Linked DNA regions of Homo sapiens: all the other regions are linked to region 3. The links are contacts of gene promoters, found by promoter capture Hi-C in blood cells and fetal thymus (Javierre and others, 2016). All regions are on one chromosome and are shown on one strand. Each heading gives the region's core, a stretch centred on a gene start or on the middle of the fragment in contact. The rest is flanking DNA. Distances are from core to core; before and after follow the strand shown.

Region 1 (2,789 bases), core at 11-2,510, 78 kb before region 3:
ATCTTGAATAGGAGATGAACTAATCAAAAGTTTTGCTTTAGAGTTCCATTTCTCTTGCAAATTATCTTGGCTTAGGCATAGCTCACATTCAGTTTTAAGAACTATGCAATATGAGTTAAGGGTGTGTAGTATGTTGCATGACTCTCATTCTTACAAAGCTCTTATGAGAAATATTGTGGGGTTTTTTTTGCCTCACATTCCATTGCATTTATGGTCACTGAAAATGGAGTGGCCTATACCGAGAAAGGCATATAAACATGTCTCTCTCATTTGCTTATGGCCATATTAGAATTTCTAAGTTGTTGATTATTCAAGACCCCTTACATGGGTTTGGCACTAGATTACTTTGGGTGTTAGCATTTGTTTAATATCAGACATTGTTTACTTGTTATTTTTGAGTGAATGCTAGCCAGGCTCTGTGATGTTTAAAAAGTTGAAATATCCATGAACAAATAATACCTTTAATGGTTGTGTTTGCATGTTCTAAAGTGCTCAGGCACTATGGTGGTAAGCAGGGGACGACTCACTAATGGAATGCACTGTGGATTTCATCAAACTTTGTGCAGACACAGTCAAAAATACATTTTTCCCTTACCCGCAATGCTTGCATTAAGGACACTGGATTGCAAATCAATTTCTTCCTGAAGGTCTTCAAGTAAGAGGTCTGCTTCATTCTTTGCTCTTTCTATTGTATCTTTCAGATCTTGAAATTCATACACTGCTTTCAGTTGTTCATTTAGCTGCATGATTTGTCTTCTATAGAGGAAATAAGGGTAAATGTAGTTAAGCTTGTATTACATTTGATATATTGGTGAAAAAAATGCCACCAAAATTGCCCTCATTGTTAGGAATTCTTGATTAGAAGGGATTCCTTCTACTCGAGTTTTTCATTTGACGGTTTATAATTGTGTTTATGTCTCATCTCTTTCATCTTAATTCACCTTCCTGGACTATTGCAACATTCATTTAAAATATGGACAGCATACCAGGTCTAGTAGAATAAAGGCTCTCAAATCATTCCATTTTGACTGTTTATGCTCTGTCTTTCTTCGTTTTGGGTTTCAAAACATGCATTCAGACATGCTTCAATTAAATCAATCTAAGGGAGCTTTTGGCTTTCAACATATGGTAAAATAGAACCGTTTACTTAGCCTGGGGTCAAATCAGGTCTTCATTTAGAATCAATCTGCATTCAGCAAGGTTCTTTTTAGTGTAACTTCTGTTCAGGGTCCCAACTCTTATTTTCCATTAGTGACAGGGAGGTTTTCTTGCTGGTGAGTGTTCCCCTGGGTTTTTTTCCATCACCTTCTTCTTTGATGGGGTACACCTTTGTTGTGCTTCAATTTGCTGGGTTTAGCACCTACTGTTACTTCGAGGGGATAATGAACACATTCCTCATGATGGAGAAACTGTGCAAATCTTGAAGTGTACAGTTGGGGGAAGTTATAAAATGAATTTATGGGACTAATTTATCTTGGCACAATGGCAATGCTTCCTTCCATTTTCTTTTGTAACTCTCCCCTCTAATCTATAGACTCTTCCTTCAGGCTCCAATTGTCACAACTGCAATTCTTCAGGCTAACAATAATAACAATAAAAATAATGATAATTACTCTAATTGGGACTCCTTAAGCACTTACATATGCCGGACACTATGCTAAGTGATGGGTCTTGAGTAATTCTCACAAGAATCCTATGAAATCCAGACTTTCTCTCTTTTGATGAAGCAATTGAAGCTTGGAGGAGTTTAGTAGCTTGCCGAAAGCCACACATTTAGTAAGTGGATTTAAACCGGGTAGTTTGACTTCTGAATTTATGCTCATGACACCTGGGGTTCTTTGTCCTCCTGTTCCCCTTCCACCTGTAGTTTACCCAGCAACATTTTTTTTAATAGAACTACATGAGGCCTGGAGAAGACAAGCACGTGAGAAGGCAGGCCCTGTCCAGGGTGCCCCACAGCGAGGCAATGGCAAAGGAGCATAAAGAGGTGAGAAGATGGAGAAGGAAATACAGGCTTCTCTGTGAGGAAGTCAGGAAAGGCTTCAGGGAGGAGGTGATGTTTGTGTGGCTGTTAAAGAGAAGTAGGAGTTTGGCAGGTGGGCTAGGAGGGAACAGGCCTCTGGGCTGCTGGTTGAAGAAGCTCAGCAGCCACTGCTTTCTCCTCACTCCAGACCTGGGCTGGGCACTCCTCTTTCTCGCTCTTTCTCTCTGGCTCTGCCTGTGGCTCTTGCAGTCTCTGTCCAGAACGTCCATGGTGGATTGGCTCATTCTGCTTTCTTTGTGCTTTGTCCGACATTTTCCTAATGGTGTCTAACCACAAGCTTGTGGTCCATGGGCCAAAGCTCATTCTCAGACAAGTTTTCTTTGGGCTATACAGTAGGGCTTCTTACAAGTGCTATTGGATTAGCTGTATACATTTTGAAGTGGGGATAGTTCAGTAAAAATATGGATGTCTGACATCTCTTGAAAATTGAGGAGATCTGTTAACATAGGGGTCTAGATCTTGCAACGCAGAAGTTGTATTGCTTTTTTGTTTTTAGAGACAGGGTCTCATTCTATCATCCAGACTGGAGTGCAGTGGCACAATCATAGTTCACTGCAGCCTTGAACTCCTGAGCTCACATGATCCTTTTGCTATGTAGCCCAGGCTGGTCTCGAACTCCTGGCCTCAAGTGATCCTACTGCCTCAGCCTCCCAAAGTGCTGGGATTACAGGGGAAAGCCACTGTGCCCAGCCCAGAAGTCTTTAGAGAAGTATAGATGTGCCTGTTGTCACCTGCCAGCTTGACC
Region 2 (2,700 bases), core at 30-2,529, 120 kb before region 3:
TGTGTTCTGTCTTCTGTTTCCCATTTCAATTATTGGCACCATAATCCACCCCTTAGCTCAAGACGGAGATCTGGGAACAGGACTGGCTGCATGATTAGCAGGGCACAAATGTGGAGCCCCTCTATTATTATTAATGTAAAGACAGTGAAAGAGCATTAAACCTAGCATGGGACTCTCCTGAGTGGGGTAGGGGGTGCTGTGCAATTGCACAAATCACATGCCCATGAAGCCAGCCTAGCCTGGGAATCTTGGGCACCTCTCGTTCCTTCATTCCCTCCCCTCCCCATCACTAGGTCCTGTCATTTCTACTTTCCTAGCAACTAGCCAGCATGTCCCCTTGCTCCAACCTCATTGCCCTCCCTTAGATTTCAGTCTGAATGCCTGCCAGAGCCCCCGACAAGTGTTCCTACTTCCAGACTCTTCCTCTCTTCAGTCTAATCCTTCCTAATACCCGCAGAAGGATTTTTTCAGAGTCAAAACTTTGATCATGTCATTCCCTTATTCAAAAGCCTTCAATGGCTGCCCTCTGCTCCTTCCCTGTGTATGACATACTTTATTCCTTCATGGCTTTCCTTTCACTACGTGGGTCCTCCTTGACCTTGTCAACTTAGTGAACTGCACACCTTTGAAGACTCCTCTTAAACATGACTTTCTCCATGAGCCTCTCTCTCCTCCTCCTTGTAAAAGCCTGTTACAGCATATATAACATAATGCTGTAACTATTTGTTTATGCCCTTATCTCCCCCAATAGACAGTGAGACAAGGACAAGTATTGTGTAACATTCGTTTTTGCATTAATGTTGCCTTGCATAAAATGAGGCACATTACATGTGCTCAATAAGTGTGTCTCGAATGAAAGTAAATGAAGACTAGTCTCCATGTTTTAAAAACTTCCTTAAATCTTAAATGTCCACTTTTTTCTACCTTAATATGAATTTCTAGCCAAAGAGAAAAAGAAATACCACCACTTGACTTAATTTTGGGAATAATTCCAAGTTTCACTCACAAATTCTTCTCGTCTATTATATTTCATACAATTTCCTCTGATTTGTGAAGATGTGACAAGTTGAGGAGGAATGAATCTCTTCTGTTAGTAAGCCTGTCCAGGGCTTTGCTCTGGCTGTCAACACAACCCTCTCTCGTCTATCATTTGTACTAAGCTGGCACTACCTGCTTTAGCATAAAGCAGTCTTTACCAAAGAATTCTGCAGCAGTTTAAATGGCAGATGGGATTGCAAATTGTTGGCTGTTCTGTCTCAAAGAATGTGTGACAGTTATCTCCCTGCAGCATTTATTATTTTCGTTTGAAAACAAAACAAGAACTGTTTTCAAGGTCACCTTCACTTTCACACAGTCTTAGAACACCGTGTGTGTCTCCTTTGAAATCCTGATTGACAGTAGAACAACAAGGATGCTACATTCTAGACTTCAATCTTTGGGTCCTGAAATGTGGCTATTTATATAACATTGTTCTCATGAAAAATACTAGATTTTTCTGTTTTAAAAATTAGATTTAAGTGCATTTTGTGAGATTCAGAATTGATCTAGAAAAGTAAATTCAATGACCAGTAAGATTCAGGTCAAATGTCATGCTATACTTTATATATATATATGTCTTTTATAATACGTACAACAGTAATTTGTAGTTTTGTTTTAGTTTCCTTCTTCCCAGAAGCAGAGACTGTCTTTCATTAGACTTTGGATTCCCGTCAGGTGGCAGTTTCTAGTATATTATAGACACACAATATCTGCTTGTTGGATGAATAAAATTGAGTAACCTTCTTTATAATTGTTAAGGGAACACACAGGGGACGTTATTGCTACCCTCTGTAATAGGAAAACCATCAGGGCCTGAAACCAGGCAGGAAGTCACAACATTTTAAGCCTCGAACCATATAATGCAAACAGTAGTTTGGGCTTGCGTTAACATTCATCCTCCCTTCATCTGGTAACATTGGCTGGATTTTCCTTGAGGGACTAGTCCTCTCCCATTTTCAGCTTACTTGATTTGAATAGGGCTAATTCCCCCATGAACTCCAGGCTATTCAGTGCATTTCCATCTTCCTCTTTCTAGTGAGTGGTTCAGGGATGGATATGAAACTCATATATTCTAGATAAGATGACTCTGGGATTTTTGTTGGAATTCCTGGGAAAAAACAAACAACCAAAAAACAAAAAACACCTCTTTTTCCCTCTGGACTTGGGAGTTATGTGAATGTCAGCCTGGAACTGGTGGAGGCTGCTTGAGACTGGAGCCAACACAAAGGAAAGAAGATCTGAGGGAACCAGAGGGTGGGTCCTTGAAGAACACTTTGGAGTATCTTGATCCAGCTATACCTGAAGCCAGTACACTTTACCTTAGCCAATACATTTTTCTAGACATGTAGCATGAGAGAGACCTAAACTTGTTGTTTTTAGCCTGAAATTTAGGAGGCTTTAAAAAAACTGCAGCATATTGACTGATGCAGGCAGGACTTTATCAACACTGTCTTAAAAATGGTCATTTGTTGGCCAGGCGTGGTGACTCACGCCTATAATCCCAGCACTTTGGGAGGCTGAGGCAGGCAGATCGCCTGGGCTCAGGAGTTCAAGACCACCCTGGGCAACATGGTGAAATCCTGTCTCTACTAAAATACAAAAAATTAGCCGGGCATGGTGGCATGCGCCTGTAGTCACAGCTACTCGGGAGGCTGAGGCACG
Region 3 (2,700 bases), core at 169-2,668:
TGGGTGCATTTTGGTAGCCGTTTAATGAATGCTGCTAGATGACACTGGTCTTAAAATGTATTAAGTGTTGCAATAAACAGTGAAATATATTAGACTGAAAGTAACTTTCTGGCATTGCTAATTTATTTAATTTACTGACCATTCACTTATATTTGCCTCATCTGCTCTCACTTGAAGGCTGCAAAGAGTTTACTCTTTTTTGTCAAAACAATTTGGATGAAACAGATGAAGAGAAAAGGGCCATGTGGTGCCCATTTGCCCAGCTCCTAGAACCACAGGTGCATCGTGTTTGATAAGAGCCTCTCCGCAGGAAAGACATGCATTCCGCTCCTGTTTCTACTACAGCACCTTTCTTCTGCAAATTGGACAGTAATTTATAACACAGAAGATAATTATAAATACATTTATATTAGCCCTTAAGACTTTTTCTGGTACACAAATAATTGTCTATAAAGTGACAGTTCTCAGAAATCTTGTATTTAACTTTCCTTTGTCTAACTTTTTTTCATGTTATGTCAGGACTCATTAGATATTTCAACTGTTTTGCCTAAATTTCATCATAGTGAGGAATGCAGAATACAGAACTATAAAGTTTACTTTTTTTTTTTTTTTGGAGACAGAGTCTTCCTCTGTCACCCAGGCTGTAGTACAGTGGCACATTCTTGGTTCACTGCAACCTCAACCTCCCATGCTTAAGCAGTCCTTCCATCTCAACCTCCTGAGTAGCTGGGATTACAGGCATGTGCCACTACGGCTGTATAGTTTTTACAGAGATGGGGTTTCGCCATGTTGCTCAGGCTGGTCTTGACCTCCTGAGCTCAAGCAATTTGCCTGCCTCGGCCTCCCAGAGGGCTGGGATTACAGGCATGAGCCACCATGCCCGGCCAAGTTTATGTTTCTTTTAGTTATAGCAGACTTGCTTTTCTTAAAACAATATTTACACATATCTAGAACATTAACAAAATATTTTGAAAATATGGGTAGTTCTAATGCATTTAAACTTTTATAAGTTGTCATAAGTTTTATAACCATAACAAAAACAAACATTTGCTGAAAACACAATACAGTTGTACATTTCAACACTACATCATTTGAAGCTCCCTTCAAGGTACAGTAAGGCTCAAGTTGTTGGCTTCATATCACAATGCACTAACATCAATTTTCCCATTGGATACTGTTTTATGTTGCAAGAACCTTTATTTAAGTGTCATTGGACTATCATTCTGTAAAAGTAATAGTAATCTATGTGCTAATATGTCCCATTTCTTACTTTATGACAACTCCACTTACCCCCTAAATTCTAATACCTTCATTTAATCCATAAAAATGCCAATTTGCTAGTGAGAGAGCAGGCAAGACTTACCAGGATCTGGGAGTCTTTGTGGAGAGGTTCAGGCAGCAAACGGGGCATGTGAAGACACACCTGAAAGTTAGAGCCAGTTTATGTAGAAAACATTCTCCCCGAGGCACCTAAAAGTAGGGAAAAAAAAAGACAAGAGGTATTCCAATGCCTGTCAAAAAGGTGATTTGTGAAGTCACTTAAGTTTTAACTTATACACACACACACACCCACACACACACATAAACAGGGAAATAGAGCTCAGTTTTACAGCAAATATTTTTCTTGTTTTCTCTAAAACCAATTTTAATAGCCAGGAATAATGCACAGACATTTTGTTCCCTGATTTATTTATGTTTTTCTGGTTCATGTTTTAGCGGTCATTTTCAGACAGCTTGATACTTACCAGCTATAAAATGTGCGGAATTAGATGGGCTTGTTTCTCAGGAATGTGAGACCCCTGACTCCATCCCAATCTACTTTCAGGCGGACCAGGTGGAATAGTTTCAGATGGGTTCCCAAGGCTCTGACCAGTCCTACCTGGCTCAAGATCATCTTAAATGGCTCATAGATTTCTGTTTACCTTGTGATTCGGCAAGTACAACTAACCATTGTGGGAATGGCAAGTTTAAGTGGTTTTGGAATCCATGTGGTTTGAAATTTCATTCTCCTACGAGGAAGGTTTATAGTATAGAAATGAACCTACAGCAATCTTACATTTTATTCACTTGTCAGTGGATTAATATCTCCATTTCAAATCTGTGCAGTTTCAATGGGTAAGTTTATTGGTTGCTTGAAAAAACATTTAGGATTTCTAGAAGCTCATGGAAAATACCCTTAGGGAAGAAAAATGATTGTGAACTGAGCCAAAATGAGATGCTCATTTTTACACAACATTTACAAATCAGGAAATAGATTCAACAAACTTTCACCAAATACCACTCTTACAGGCCTTTAAGCTTTTTCAAGGGTATTTTTCAATGCTTCTTACCTGTTATTTGTGTTTTAATTTATTGCTCTATTTTTCCATCGATGCCACTGTTTTTAATTTTGTTCCCTATAGGTCAGGTTCATCTGCTCACTTCTGATGTACTAGAAAGCAAACTCCAAGAGGGCAGGAACATGTCTTTTCCATTTTAGGATGAAGTATAGAAGAAGCTTGCAGTCAATATTTGCTAAACTAACTTGTTTTATTTATTTTTTACAAGCCAACAGCTGCCACAAAGTACCAGGTGGTAGGAGACCAAAGAGCAGTATTTGGTTTTTAGGTGGATACTTCAGCAAAGTGTGTGAGTGAAATCAAGGGACTTTCAGTTTGTTCAATTGACGGGTTTGTGATCTGTTTTATTAGACCAATACTA

What was found. Contacts are between HindIII fragments. The CHiCAGO score rates a contact against its expected background, and 5 or more counts as called.
Region 1: a fragment that was not itself captured here is called in contact with the fragment with the promoter of LAMB4 in region 3 in 1 of 17 cell types (endothelial precursors); the score reaches 5.2 in endothelial precursors.
Region 2: a contact is called between a fragment that was not itself captured here and the fragment with the promoter of LAMB4 in region 3, in 1 of 17 cell types (endothelial precursors). The highest score is 5.3, in endothelial precursors.

Annotation. Positions count from the first base shown.
Region 1 is chr7:108,051,502-108,054,290 of GRCh38, forward strand. LAMB4 (laminin subunit beta 4) reads right to left here. Exons shown (of 34, transcript NM_007356.3): 26 at 596-756. Among named protein-coding and RNA genes, the nearest start is that of LAMB1, 50 kb to the left of the region's middle. The HindIII fragment of the contact is 948 bases long and covers 787-1,734 here.
Region 2 is chr7:108,006,724-108,009,423 of GRCh38, forward strand. No RefSeq gene overlaps it. Among named protein-coding and RNA genes, the nearest start is that of LAMB1, 4.9 kb to the left of the region's middle. The HindIII fragment of the contact is 4,097 bases long and covers 1-2,700 here.
Region 3 is chr7:108,128,943-108,131,642 of GRCh38, forward strand. LAMB4 (laminin subunit beta 4) reads right to left here and starts at 1,419. Exons shown (of 34, transcript NM_007356.3): 1 at 1,364-1,419. The HindIII fragment of the contact is 5,422 bases long and covers 1-2,296 here.